Regions from separate parts of the Homo sapiens genome. Here regions 2 and 3 are each linked to region 1. The links are contacts of gene promoters, found by promoter capture Hi-C in human tissues and cell types (Jung and others, 2019). All regions are on one chromosome and are shown on one strand. The core of a region is centred on a gene start or on the middle of the fragment in contact, and the rest is flanking DNA. Distances in the headings are between cores, read along the strand shown. Region 1 holds the start of SLC37A3 (solute carrier family 37 member 3). Region 2 overlaps KDM7A (lysine demethylase 7A). Region 3 overlaps KDM7A (lysine demethylase 7A).

Region 1 (4,851 bases), core at 2,352-4,851:
CTCAAGCAATCTTCCTGCCTTAGCCTCCTGTATATCTGGGACTACAGGTGTGCACCATCATGCCCAGCTATTTATTTCATTTTTTTGTAGAGCCAGGGCCTCACTTTGTTACCCAGACTGGTCTCGAACTCCTGGGATCAAGCAATCCTCCCACATCAGCCTCCCAAGGTGCTGGGATAACAGGCGTGGGCCACCGTGCCTGGCCTGAAATGTCTTTTTAACTGTAGGCTGGGGTCCGCAACGTTTGAGAAGCACTGAAATACAGGGCAATTTATTCACTGTCCAAGAACATTACTTCTATGATGTCTTCAGATAAATTTGAAAATATTTGTCTTACCCAAAATTCCAGTTACATATCCATTTTCAGGATACTCTCTTCTGAGTGAGATAAACTCAACACTGGCAGGTATAGCAAGAAAACAAAAGACTCTGCCAAATATTGCTGCAGGGTGAGAACCACCAGCACAATGTGGAAATCCAGTGTAGGTAAAGATTCGCCCCAAATGTGTGATCAGGAAATAAAACCTGTTAGGTGTCAGTGTCATGAAGTTCAGTGTCCAAATGTTGTCTTTCTTCTGGTAATGGTTACTTTTTTTTTTTTTTTCCTGAGATAAGGTTTAGCTTTTGTCACTCAGGCTCGAGTGCAATGGTGCGATCTTGGCTCACTGCAACCTCCACCTCCCGGGTTCAAGCGATTCTCCTGCCTCAGCCTCCCGAGTAGTTGGGATTACAGGCACCCGCCACCACGTCCAGCTAATTTTTGTATTTTTAGTAGAGATGGGGTTTCACTATGTTGGCCAGGCTGGTCTGGAACTCCTGACCTCAGGTGATCCACTTGCCTCGGCCTTCCAAAGTGCTGGGATTATAGGGGTGAGCCACCGCACCTGGGGTGGTTACTGTTTAAAAAAAAAGTCACCTGACTCAGACCCACTGAGCACTTGGAGAACATCTACAGGTAGAAAACAAATGTTACAAATATTTAAATATCCTGATGGTTTTGGAAGTCAAGGGGAGAGAGATCTTACCTCTGTCTACCACCCAACCCTCTCCACCAAGGTCACTATAAATACAAAGAGCATAGCTTGGGCTACAGGAAAGAAGGCATTCATATGTATAAATGTGTGTGTATATATACACTGTTTTTTCTTTTTTAAGAGACTGGGTCTCCCTCTGTCACCCAGGCTGGAGCACAGTGGTACGATCATAGCTCACTGCAGCCTCCAAAGGTGCGGCTGAAGTGATCCTCCTACCTCAACCTCCCTAGTAGCTGGGATTAAAGATACACACCACCACATGGCTAAGAAGGCATTCTAGCCCTGAGTGGTGGTGACACAGGTTATATACTTGAAGTATACACACACACATATATATGTATACACCCATATGTAAATATAACACAAAAAACTATGTATTTCACTCTATGTATATATATTTACCATTTTAACCGTTTTTAAGTGTACAATTCAATGGCATTAAATACATTGTTGTGCAACCAACATCACCATCCATCTCCAGGACTTTTTTGGCATCCCAAACGGAAACTCCATAGCCATTAAACAACAATTTCTCATTTCCCCTTCCCTCCAGCCATGGGCAACCACCATGCTACTTTCTGACTCTATGAATTTCACTACTCTGGCTACCTCATATAAGTGGAACTGTACTGTACTGGTCCTTTTATGTCTGACTTATTTCACTTAGCATAATGTTTTTGAAGGTTCGTCTATGTTGTAGTATGTGTCAGAATTTGCTACCTTTTTTAGGCTGAAAAATAAACGATTCACAATATATTTTTAAAAATAAAAGTAACATATTTGGCTCATTTATTTTTGCTCACCCTGACATCATATTTCTCCTTGGATGCCTAGAGACAAAACTACCACTGTATAAGGGCTAGAAACAAAACTACCACTGTATAAGGGCAAATAAAAATGAAAAATAACAGGCTTAATTCCTCTGCTGAAAATAAAGAGACTTCTCAGCCTTCTCTCTGTTCCTTCAAAATTTCTTTCTCTGTCCTTTTCGAATGTACACAAATCTTTATAACGGCGAAATGAGCCTCTTGCCAGTATCACAACTCAGAAATGTATCCTCAAGGACTTGGGGGTCATCTTTTTGAAATTCAGACGTGAGTTAGTGCCTGTATCTTCCAGTTCCTACATGAGGGTAAGAGACTAAATTAGTGGGTATGGGCGCCTTGCTCCAATTTGTAAAACTACCTCCTGCTATAAAGATATGCGAACTTTGGCCGGCTGCGGTGGCTCACACCTGTAATGCTAGAACTTTGGGAGGCCAAGGAGGGCAGATCACGAGGTCAGGAGATCGAGACCATCCTGGCTAACACGGTGAAACCCCGTCTCTACTAAAAATACAAAAAAATTAGCCAGGCGTGGTGGCGGGCGCCTGTAGTCCCAGCTATTCGGGAGGCTGAGGCAGGAGAATCCCTTGAACCCGGGAGGCGGAGCTTGCAGTGAGCTGAGATCACGCCACTGCACTCCAGCCTGGGTAACAGAGCAAGACTCCGTCTCAAAAACAAAAAACAAACAAACAAAAAGATATGCGAAGTTTAAAAAACGAACAACAACAACAAAAAGTTATGCGAAGTTTGTTTTGCTTCTGGATAAAGCCAACATGAGTGGTCTCCCCAATTACTACTATTAAGTAAGGAGGAACTATGTTTGACAAAAGGTGTTGTCAAGTTCTGTTATTTGAAGACTAGTGATTGTTTATCTTGAGAACAGGTATGTAATGGTTGTTGTGGAGATTTTCTGGATTAAGAGAAGTTTTTTTTCTTTAAAATTCGAACAAGTGTCTGTATTTTTTCCCTTTATTTAAGAAACGGTGGCGGCGGTGGTGGTGGTGGATGGGGGGCGGCTCTCACTACCTTGCCCAGGCTGGTCTCAAACTCTTGTTCTCAAATGATGCTCCTACTTCGGCCTCCCAAAGTGTTAGGATTACAGGTGTGAGACACTTGTGTTGGATTTTTTTTTTTTGGAGGCAGGGTCTCGTTCTGTTGCCCAGGCTGGTGCAGTGGAGCAATCACAGCTGCCAGCCTCAAACTTTTGGGCTCAAGCGATCCTCGCACCTCGGTCGCCCCAGTAGCAGGGACCACAGGCACATGCCACTACTCCTGGCTAATTTTAACATTTTTTGTAGAGATGGGGTCTGGCTATGTTGCTAAGGCTGGTCTTGAACTACTGGGTTCAAGTGATCCTCCCTTCTCGACCTCCTAAAGTGTTGGATTACAGGCGTGAGCCCACTGTGCCCGGCCTGCATTTAATTAGACACCTAAAATTTAGGCCGGTCAGTAGCACACTTAGCAGCACGTTACTTTTTATAAAAACAAAGACCGAATACCGCTTTTTTGAAAAAAAAAAAAAAAAAAAAAAAAAAAGGATGCACCAGTTCTCCCCATATCATTTCTTCTCTCTACCTCTCGTCTTTTGCAGCTAACATTACTGGCCAGGTCCGCAGCAGCAGAGTTCTGTGGGCTCCCAGCCTCCGCCCTCCTCGCCCTCCTCCGCGCCGGCAGGTGAGGCCGCGTGGCGGGACTACAACTCCCAGCGTGCCCCGCGACGGGAGGGTCACGTGGGCGTCCGGAAACCCTGGTCGCACCGCCAGGGGTGAGCTGGCGGCGGGGGAGGCGGGCAGCGGAGCCAAGCTGACCCGGCGAGCGGAGCCGGGGCTGGAGAGCGGCGACCACTGCGGATCTCGGGTGCGCAAGCGGTGATGCGTGGGGCCGAAGACCTGCTGGGGCGGGGGCGGGTCCAATCCGAGGGGCTTCCCGGGTCGGGAGGGCGGTGGGGAGATGTAGGTGGCGGCCCCCCTTGGGTGGGGCGCCCAGGCAGGGTCGGCCGCTCGCCCCCTCCTTCTCCTCCCTGGGCCCGGGCCTGGGGTCCCGGCCGTCACGGGGAGGCTGCGATGGGGTGGATGGGGAGGAGAAGGACCCCCGGGGGACCCTGCGGCCCGGCCCCGATCCATGCGGCAGAGGCTTTTGTGCTCCTCGCCCGCCTGTCCTCCGGCCGTGGGTCTGGGAGATTCTGACTTGATCAGAAAAGGGCTTGTCGTTCGGACCAGGGGAGAGGGGATGCTTTTCAGGTAGGTGGGGAAGGAAGCTCTTTGGAAAGGATGTATAGAGGTCAGAGAAGAAGCGTGGTCTCAGTGAGTGACTGGTTTTGTTTTCTGGTAACTAGCATGAACTCAGTCAAGGAATTTGGTCAAATTATTCGTCATTCCCTCCTTATTCTTCGCAGGGTGTGTTCTGTTTATTCTCAGTTTTGACAGGAGATAATGGGAATGTGTCCCCGGAGTTTTTAGTGTTTTTTTGAAATGTAAGATGGTAGGCTATCTCGTGGTAACTCTTACTGAAAAGTTTATAGTTTATAGGGAGGAGTGGTTCCTGGGGTGAGCAAAATCATTCAGTTGTTATCTTTTTGTCCACCGGTTTATTTCTACCTTTACACAAATTTATACATACATAAATATATATAACAGTTGTTGAAGGGAATGTCTTCAGTGCTTTGGTGCTTAAATGATTTCTTTTCAGTTTGTTTGATGTTTCTTGGATACTAGGCTCTATACTAAGAACTCCATATAAATTATCTCATTTAATTAATACATGAGGAAATTGAGCTTCGGGTTGGGCGCGGTGTCTCATGCCTGTAATCCCAGCACTTTGGGAGGCCGAGGCCTGTGGATTCCTTGAGGTCAGGAGTTCAAGACCAGCCTGGCCAACATGGTGAAACCCCGTCTCTACTAAAAATACAAAGATTAGCTGGGCGTCGTGGCGCATGCCTGTAATCCCAGCTACTCGGGAGGCTGAGGCAGGAGAATCGCTTGAACCTGGGAGGC
Region 2 (4,851 bases), core at 1,139-3,638, 290 kb after region 1:
TAGGTGATACATACATATGTGAGCTGATGAAAATACATGTCCATATTAATTTCTTTTTTTTTTTTTAGACAGAGTCTTAATCTGTTGCCCAGGCTGGATTGCAGTGGTGCGATCTCGGCTCGCTGCAACCTACGCCTCCTGGGTTCAAGTGATTCTCCTGCCTCAGCCTCCCGAGTAGTTGGGACTACAGGCACGCACCACCACGCCTAGTTAATTTTTGTATGTTTTAGTAGAAATGAGGTTTCGCCATGTTGGCCAGGCTGGTCTTGAGCTCCTGACCTCAGGTGATCCACCCGTCTTGGCCTTCCAAAGTCCTGGAATTACAGTCATGAGCCACTGTGCCTGGCTGTGTCCATATTAATTTCTTGAATGTCCCCTTGAAATAAAAATCTTGCTCTTAAGAAATACTGGGAGACAGTAATTAATAGGTTACTGCCTCAATGATTTTATACTCCCTTTTTACTGTATTATCATTGCTACATATCTGCTAGAGCACAACAGTGTGGAAGCATTCAGGAAAATAAAAATCATGTCCTCCACTGTGAAAGACCTTATTGTCTAGGTGACAAGGAAAGCCATAAGCAAATTTAAAACTGTTTAACAAGATAAAAACAAAACAAAGCATATGTTGCCAAAACTGTATAATTTGTTTCCTACTGAAGGCTTTAGATGTGTGATTCTCAAATTTGTGACTTTATCAGAATTCCCTTTAGAGCTTTTTTTTTTTTTTTGAGACAGAGTCTCACTCTGTTGTGCAGACTAGAGTGTAGTGGCACAATCTCGGCTCACTGCAACCTCCACTTCCTGGGTTCAAGTGATTCTCCTACCTCACCCTCCTGAGTAGCTGGGATTCCACGCCTGGCTTAGTTTTGTATTTTTAGTAGAGACGGGGTTTTGCCATGTTGGCCAGGCTGGGCTCAAACTTCTGACCTCAGGTGATCTGCCAGCCTTGGCCTCCCAAAGTGTTGGGATTACAGGCGTGAGTCACTGCGCCCGGCCTTCCCCTTTCCTATTGATGGGATCTTTTTTCTATTTTGCTTTTGACTATTAAAAGAAAAAAAAGTACAAAAATTTATTCAAATTAGATTTCCCAAGAGAAATTAGGATTACGTTAGTGTCTGTGTTCTCCTTAAAAATCCTTATGCATTATGAATTAAATGTTAAGCTTAATTTGTCACTTTACGAATTAGTAGTAGTAGTTAGAATTACAGTAGGCTTTGAGGAGTAGAGTACAAGGTTACTACTCAATGTAAAGCAAAATTCACTGTGAGACTAGTCTGTTTTTAACACAGTCTAAGAGGATTTTGTATGTTAATGAGAATCTCCTTAGAAGGCATTATACTAGCTACACGAACTCTGAAACCTGGCTTACTAGTATTTGGCGATGTCTGTAACAGTTTAGAGAATCCAAAAATTGGTTTAGTAAATTTGTTTTTACATATTAAAGTGTAAATAACTTTGGTTTTCTTATTTTTGTTAATCCAAATACAGCTTGTATCTGAACATGCCTTTGAAATTCCAGACAATGTTAGACCTGGACACCTTATTAAAGAACTTTCTAAAGTAATTCGAGCAATAGAGGTAAGAGTGGAAACTGTCATGTAAATGCTTGATTATTATCTGCTTTGAGAAGCAAATGGATCTATTCCACTCTCTACAAATATTTAAAAACTCTTACACACTTAGAAGAAATATAATGAGCTGAGTCTTTGGAGGTTTCTCAGGTTTTCAGGCCTCTGAAGTCCTTAAGAGAAATTTAAATATTGTATTCTAATGAATTCTAATGAAGTAATAAGGAAACAGTTACTAGTTTAGGATACTTAAAAAAAATCAAAAATACAGAGTATAAACAGTAGAACTTTCAGATACAGTTAATTTCAGCTACCCAGAGAGGAATACATGTTTATGTAATTAGAACAAGAGAAGAAATGTAAGGTGAATGAGTCAAGCTAGGGAAGCTGAGATGGAGAGAGGGATGATAAGCAGTAGAGTGGGGCAAGGAGATGCTTAGGTAAATGCCCTTTAATAAAAGCTCATAAAATCTGATGAGATGTTTTAATTTATTAATTGAGAGCTATTCTCGGTGTTTAAGAAAGGGTGTTTTAAAGTAATTCTTCAAGAAGGTTGTTCTGTTAGTGTCTAGCTTAAATTGAGAGGAAATTAGGTGGAGGAATGGAGGCCAGCTGATGATTTAACAGCTTACATTAGGGCTGTGTTTGGAGAATGGAAAGAGGTATACATTTACAAAATACTAAAATGCTTGCTTTAATATCAATGGATAGAATGTGTAATTCTCAATGTGTTCAGATAGAGGAGAAAAATACGTTCTGTTTTTAAAGTGTTACAGTAATCACATTTAAATTGATTTAGTATCAAAAGTCATATATCTAATCTTAAATATATATGTAAGTTTATACATATATAAATCTCATGCATGATAACCAACATGAAGAATAAACTTACTGTGAAAGGTATGATTCTATATGAAGAAAAACTATAAATCTTTACTTTTAGGAAGTAAAACAGTAGTTAAATGGGAGTGTCAGTCAGCTCTAAATTAGTATTACAAATTTAAAGTGGTAAAATACACTTGGAAGAGTAATTAAACTGGTCTAGAGAGCAGCCAGTTCAGGATGGATCAGAAGAATGAAAGGATCCATATTTGTTATGACCTGAAATTCAAGTTTAAGTGGGTGTCTGTTATTTTATCTGGCAATCCTATCCAGGAAGGATGTCTCCAGAGAAAAATATAAAATTATTAGATTACCAAATGTGTTTGAATGTTTGTATTCTTCTAGTGGATAATTTGGGAATCAGTTAGTGATTGAATAAGGGAATGTAATGACAATATGTTATGTGGCGCTGGGTTATCAATAATTTTTACCAAGTCCAATTTACTGAATATTGAAGGAAAGGGAGGTATGTGCATGTTTAAGAGAGGTGTGTAAGGATTAAGACTTCATCTTGCATGATAGGAATTCAGTAATATCTGAAGCTGAAAACAGTATAAACATATCATTTTGTAATTTGGAGGCAAATAACTACAGGGAAAACCATTTAGAAGAGTTGGAAGTCCTGGCTATATACCTAAAAGAATTGATAGCAGGGACTCAAACAGGTATTTGTACACCTACGTTTATAGCAGCATTATCCACAATAGCCAAAAGATAGACCAAGCAACCCAGGTGTCCATCAGCAGGTGAATAGATAAAGTGTGGGACATACTCACAGTGGAATACTACTCAGCCTTATAAAAGAAGGAAATGCTGACTGGGAGGATTCCAAGATGGCCAAATAAGAACAGCTCCAGTCTACAGCTCCCAGCGTGAGCGACACAGAAGATGGGTCATTTCTGCATTTCCAACTGAGGTACTGGGTTCATCTCACTGGGGCTTGTTGGACAGTGGGTGCAGCCCACGGAGCGTGAGCCAAAGCAGGGCGGTGCATCGCCTGTCCCAGGAAGTGCAAGGGGTCGGGGAGTTCCCTTTCCTAGCTAAGGGAAGCCGTGACAGACGGTACCTGGAAAATCAGGACACTCCCACCTTAATACTGCACTTTTCCAATGGTCTTAGCAAACAGCACATCAGGACGTTATATCCTGCGCTGGCTCCGAGGGTCCCACACCCACGGAGCCTTGGTCACTGCTAGCACAGCAGTCTGAGATCAAACTGCAAGGTGGCAGCGAGGTTAGGGGAGGGGCATCCACCATTGCTGAGGCTTGAGTAGGTAAATGAAGCAGCCAGGAAGCTCAAACTGGGTGGAGCCCACCACAGCTCAAGGAGGCCTGCCTGCCTCTGTAGACTCCACCTCTGGGGGCAGGGCATAGCTGAACAAAAGGCAGCAGAAACTTCTGCAGACTTAAACGTCCCTGTCTGACAGCTTTGAAGAGAGTAGTGGTTCTCCCAGCACACAGCTTGAGATCTGAGAACGGACAGACTGCCTCCTCAAGTGGGTCCCTGACCCCTGGGTAGCCTAAATGGGAGACACCTCCCAGTAAGGGCCGACTGACACCTCATACAGCTGGGTGCCCCTCTGAGACGAAGCTTCCAGAGGAAGGATCAGGCAGCAACCTTTGCTGTTCTGCAATATTTGCAGCCTCCGCTGGTGATACCCAGGCAAACGGTCTGGAGTGGACCTCCAGCAAATTCCAACAGACCTGCAGCTGAGGGGTCTTGACTGTTAGAAGGAAAACAAACAGAAAGGACATCCACACCAAAACCCCATCTCTAGGTCACCATCATCAAAGACCAAAGGTAGATAAAACCACAAAGATGGGGAAAAAAACAGAGCAGAAAAGCTGAAAATTCCAAAAATCAGAGTGCCTCTTCCCCTCCAGAGGAACGCAGCTTCTCGTCAGCAACGGAACGAAGCTGGACGGAGAATGACTTTGACAAGTTGACAGAAGTAGGCCTCAGAAGATCAGTAATAACAAACTTCTCTGAGCTAAAGGAGGATGTTCAAACCCATCGCAAAGAAGCTAAAAACCTTGAAAAAAAAGATATGACAAATGGCTAACTAGAATAAGCAGCACAGAGAAAACCTTAAATGACCTGATGGAGCTGAAAACCATGGCAAAAGAACTATGTGACGCATGCACAAGCTTCGGTAGCCGATTTGATCAAGTGGAAGAAAGGGTATCAGTGATTGAAGATCAAATGAATGAAATGAAGCAAGAAGAGAAGTTTAGAGAAAAAAGAGTAAAAAGAAACAAACAAAGCCTCCAAGAAATATGGGACTATATGAAAAGACCAAATGTACGTCTGATAGGTGTACCTGAAAGTGACGGGGAGAATGGAACCAAGTTGGAAAACACTCTTCAGGATATTATCCAGGAGAACTTCCCCAACCTAG
Region 3 (4,851 bases), core at 782-3,281, 260 kb after region 1:
ATTGATTACACAATCCATAATGGATCACGACTTAACTTTGAGTAATTATGCTTTGGAGAGAAGCTTGCCTATGCTTCTCATCCCTGAAGAACATAAGACCAGGCATTGACTATCTTCTGGTCAGACGTCCAACTCTGTGTACTTACAGGGAAAACACCCAAGATCCAGTCATCTGTTCTATCTGGATTTAAGGCTCACCTTCCCTACTCCTCACCTTCTATCCCCAACTTGGTTAATCCCTTTTGATCCCTTTCCCTCTGCTATTAAGCTTCTCTCTTTTTTTTTTTTTAATTTATTTTTTATTTTTTGAGACGGAGTCTTGTGCTGTCGCCCAGGCTGGAGTGCAGTGGCACAGTCTTGGCTCACTGCAACCTCCGCCTCACAGGTTCAAGCAATTCTCCTGCCTCAGCCTCCTGAGTAGCTGGGATTACGGTTGTGTGCCACCACACCTGGCTAATTTTTGTATTTTCAGTAGAGACAGAGTTTCACCATGTTGGCCAGGCTGGTCTCGCCTCGGCCTCTCAAAGTGCTGAGATTACAGGCGTGAGCCACTGCGCCTGGCCTCTTAGGCCTGTCTTACTTGCTACCTGGGTTTCCTGTTGGTTTCAGAGATTCCCTAGGAGTCCTTATTATTGATACCATTTAGCCAGTATAATAACTACTTCATATGGTGAATTTAGACTTTACCCTCTTACTGGGAATTAAGAACTCTATTTGAGGGCAGGTATCAAAAAACAGCCCACAAATAACTTAAATATGTATTCTCTGTCTTCTTTAGGCACATGCAATCCAAACACAAAATTTTCTCCTTTCCCTTTAACCATTACTAAAATATTCCTTCACTGACCTCCTTCCTTTAAGAAATTCAATCAGCTGTTACATAGTGGCTGATTTTATGGTTAGCATGTTGGCCCAACAGGACAATTGTATCCTTCTGTTAACCTCCTCCAAGTCAGCACATTTAAAAGGAAATGATAGTGATTGGCAGCTTATTACATGGTAGGCACTATAGTAGGTAAGTAAGTACTTAACCTATGTTATCTTCTTTGACATTTATAACAACTCCATGTGAGAAATGAGAAAAATGATCTAGCTAGCCCTTTTATGTAGCTATTTGGCAGAGCTGGAGTTTGAACCCCTAGCAGTCTAATTCCAAAGCTGATGCACTTCACTGATTAATCTCTTCTGCAAAAATGAAAATTAACTACTGGGGTTGCTGAGATAGGAGGATTGCTTGAGCCCAGGAGCTTGAGGCTGCAGTGAACTGTGATTGCGCCACTGTACTCCAGCCTGGGTGACAGAGGGAGACCATGTCTTAAAAAAGAAATAAAACTTAAAAATGCAATATCATACTTTACCTATCAAATGGGCTGCCTTTTTTTTTTTTTTCTTTTAAGTACTGATGCCCATTGTTAACCCAGGGGTATGAAATACGCTTCTTATATAATACTAGTAAGGAAAGTAAGTTACTAGTACCACTTTTTTGGAGACAGTTTTGTAATATGTAGCAATTATCTTAAAAATGTTGGTCTTTTTTCTAGCATTTCTTAGAATTTATTCTGAGGAATTAATCAGGGAAACATTAATATATACAAACATGAATTTCAACTTTGAAGAAAGATTCAGAATGAACTAAGTGCTTAAGAATCAAAAAATGATTATAATATGGTATATCTACATCTTAAAATTGTAGTCTGTTTTAAATATTTAATAAAAAGAAAATGCTCATTATATAATAAGAAAGATAAGCAGGATAAACATTGTGATCCCAATTGAAGATAAAATGGAGTTATGGGCTGGGCGCAGTGGCTCACACGTGTAATCCTAGCACTTTGGGAGGCCAAGGTGGGCGGATCACAAGGTCAGGAGATCGAGACCATCCTGGCCAACATGGTGAAACCCCATCTCTACTAAAATACAAAAAATTAGCCGAATGTGGTGGCACACCCCTGTAGTCCAGCTACTCAGGAGGCTGAGGCAGGGGAATTGCTGGAACCTGGGAGGCGGAGGTTGCAATGAGCCGAGATCATGCCACTGCACTCCAGCCTGGCAACAGGGCAAGACTCTGTCTCAAAAAAAAAAAAAAAAAGGAGTTATGTATCTATATATAGTAGAAAAAATCTGGAATGAAATACACTCAAATTTAGGAGTGATTTTAAATGAGAAAAAATAACATGCAAAGGATGTTTTAATGGAATTTCCTAGGAAGTTTGCTTTGTGATTCTAAATTTTTGTGAGTTTGTTTTTTTTTTTTTTTAATGGGACTTACGCTCTTCCATATTGAAGATTTGGCTGCCATAAGTTACTTGGGAATCTTGTTTTAGACTCTTAGATAGTTGAATAAGCCTGATTTCCACCTCTGTTAATTATTGTGACTTCTTATCGACATGAGGACCCAATGTTGTTGTATTACTGTGATCTTTGTAAGGTGGAAAAGGTTTAAAATAACTTGGAATCATAAAGTTGTTTTCCCCAAAACATATTGTGAAAATGTTCAAACATATAGGAAAAATTGGAAGAATTTTACAGCAAGCACCTATAAGCCTTATCATCTAGATTCTACTATTAACATTTTCATTACATGCTCTAACACATATCTATCCATGTAACTATTCTGCTGTCTACCCATCTTATTTTTTTGATGCGTTTCTAAATAAATTGCAGATATCAGTACATTTTCCAGAATCATAGAGGTTTTAGGCTTAAGAGTAATTTTCAAGCTTAAAAAAAAAAAAGATTTAAAACAGAAATTGTACATTGATACAACACACAAGAGCTGTAGGTAGTGCCACTCTGCTGGAAAGAGGAATGAGGTCCAGAGATCATTCCTTGGCTTTTTCCCCATCTCCCCTTTGTGAAGGGTTCTTCCACACAGTTTGAAAATTAGCAGTTTAATCCACCCCTTCATTCCTACATTGAGGAATCTGGATCCATAGGTGTTAAGTGACCTGCCCAAGATTGCAGAGAAAGCTATTGGCTGAACTAGGAATCAAATCCAAATCTTCTGATTTCGATTGCTGTGACTACTCAAGGTCATAGCCTTCCAGAGCTGTAGAATTACAGGGTCTTAGCATTGGAATAAATGATGAAGTTATGTATTTTGTCATGCTACCCGTCTTTCTTTAATTATGACTCAGTCACCTGCTCTTCTTTATGTCAGTGTAACTGTGCTTATTTAGGGAGTAAGTCTTCACATGAAAGAGGAAGGAATGATGCTATTAGAATAGATTTCTAATGTGAGATAAAAGGCCCTGTCCTGAGAAGACGATTTGGATTATCTGGATAATCATATTAGGACCTAATGTTCTGATGAAAATCATAATTGTATATAATTTGGAAATTGTATAGTATCTATAAGTGTGGACATTATAAAAGGCTCCATCTGCTGATTTGAATTTGTTGCTTTAATTTTATATGTTTTGAAATAAAAAGAGTAGGTTTTAAAAATCCACAGTTAATTGTCTGTAATTGCAGCATTACATTAAGCAAAATTCTCAGGCCTGGAAATGCATTAAAAACTTGAGTGTTTTTAATGTACTTACAATTGTTATTTCTGATTATGTCGGATATAATGATTAGAAATCACATAGTATCACCAGTTACCAAAATCATTTTTTTTTAATCTTTTAAAAATCCAGTGAAAAAAAGGAGGAACTGGCACAGACATGACTACACAGAAATTGATGATGGTTCCAAACCAGTGCAAGCTGGAACTAGAACTTTCATTAAGGAATTACGCTCTCGAGTCTTCCCAAGGTATGGAAACTTACTCTGATAAAAGAAAATGTAAGAATGTAAGAATGTCGTCTCATAGAGTGACATTATATAAAGGCAATGTTTTCAAACTTAGGCTGCAACCCATTATTGTCCTCAGCCAGCTTTTCACCTTTTTTCTTCCTTAACGAAATAGAAAAGTATCAGTACATTCCAAGAAATAGCAGTAAGTAAGCATATTTTCATGGAACTTTTGTTACATCTATGTGCACACTGGGTCACCCTGTAAAAACATTTAAGTGTGGGCCACAGTCCAAAAAGTTTGAAATACACTAATCTGAGGGAGTTGTTCCCAGTACTTGGTTCCTTATGATATGCAGCTGCTACCTGTTTTGTTTCTTTTGCCTCACCTTCTCTTGTTTTCCCAACTCTGCTTTTTCTCCATTGCTTTTATATGCATCTCTGCCCTACATCCACCAGAAGCACACACAACCACTGCAGGGGTGGGCTTTTTGATTTTTTAAAAAATAATGGAATATATTTGAGTTGTCTGGCTCAAAGAGAGTGGAAAGCATTATAAAGCATTTAATCATGCTAATTTAGATCATTTCCTACTCACTGCCTGACATCTATTTCAAGTGATAATGCTTAATAGGCTTTTACACAAGATCATAGTCAGGCTTGTTAAAGAGGGGAAGCACAATTTAAATTTAAATCACAGTATCACATGCAGCTTATTATGGAATTATTTCAGATCCTGAAACGATAAAACCCCTGCTATTTCTCCTCAGTCTTTAGAATTCCTCTCTAGCCCCCTGCCCCTTAATCCTTATGCAGAAACATATAATGGTAAGTATCTACTGTTGGCTCCCTCAGGTCTGTTGAGAGACAGAAAGAACACATATTTAAAATGTAGTGTTTCCACGTGATTTTTGTGGTGTTAAATACCCTATTCGCAAATATTCTTTTTTATCAGTTTCCAAGTTGTAGGATAAATGTTTGCGTGTTTTCTTTTTTATTGGCTCATGCTTGATTGGTTTGGCACCTAGGCCCAAAGTTTTCAGTCTGCTTCTGGTGGTGGGTCTAAGAGAGGTTTGTGAGCTCCCTAAAATGGTATGTATAATTTAGAGTCAGTTG

What was found. The method cuts DNA at HindIII sites, captures the fragments that hold promoters and counts their contacts. A contact is called where the count stands out against the background at its distance.
Region 2: a fragment that was not itself captured here is called in contact with the fragment with the promoter of SLC37A3 in region 1 in 1 of the 25 tissues and cell types used here (mesenchymal stem cells).
Region 3: a contact is called between a fragment that was not itself captured here and the fragment with the promoter of SLC37A3 in region 1, in 1 of the 25 tissues and cell types used here (mesenchymal stem cells).

What each region holds. Positions count from the first base shown.
Region 1 is chr7:140,397,280-140,402,130 of GRCh38, reverse strand. SLC37A3 (solute carrier family 37 member 3) reads left to right here and starts at 3,601. Exons shown (of 15, transcript NM_207113.3): 1 at 3,601-3,715. LOC124901759 (a long non-coding RNA gene) reads left to right here. Exons shown (of 2, transcript XR_007060561.1): 2 at 1-548. RefSeq lists silencers at 3,454-3,683, 3,794-4,063. The HindIII fragment of the contact is 36,664 bases long and covers 1-4,851 here.
Region 2 is chr7:140,107,825-140,112,675 of GRCh38, reverse strand. KDM7A (lysine demethylase 7A) reads left to right here. Exons shown (of 20, transcript NM_030647.2): 11 at 1,492-1,581. Among named protein-coding and RNA genes, the nearest start is that of PARP12, 47 kb to the right of the region's middle. The HindIII fragment of the contact is 4,968 bases long and covers 1-4,851 here.
Region 3 is chr7:140,132,444-140,137,294 of GRCh38, reverse strand. KDM7A (lysine demethylase 7A) reads left to right here. Exons shown (of 20, transcript NM_030647.2): 3 at 3,639-3,756. Among named protein-coding and RNA genes, the nearest start is that of KDM7A, 42 kb to the left of the region's middle. The HindIII fragment of the contact is 3,729 bases long and covers 167-3,895 here.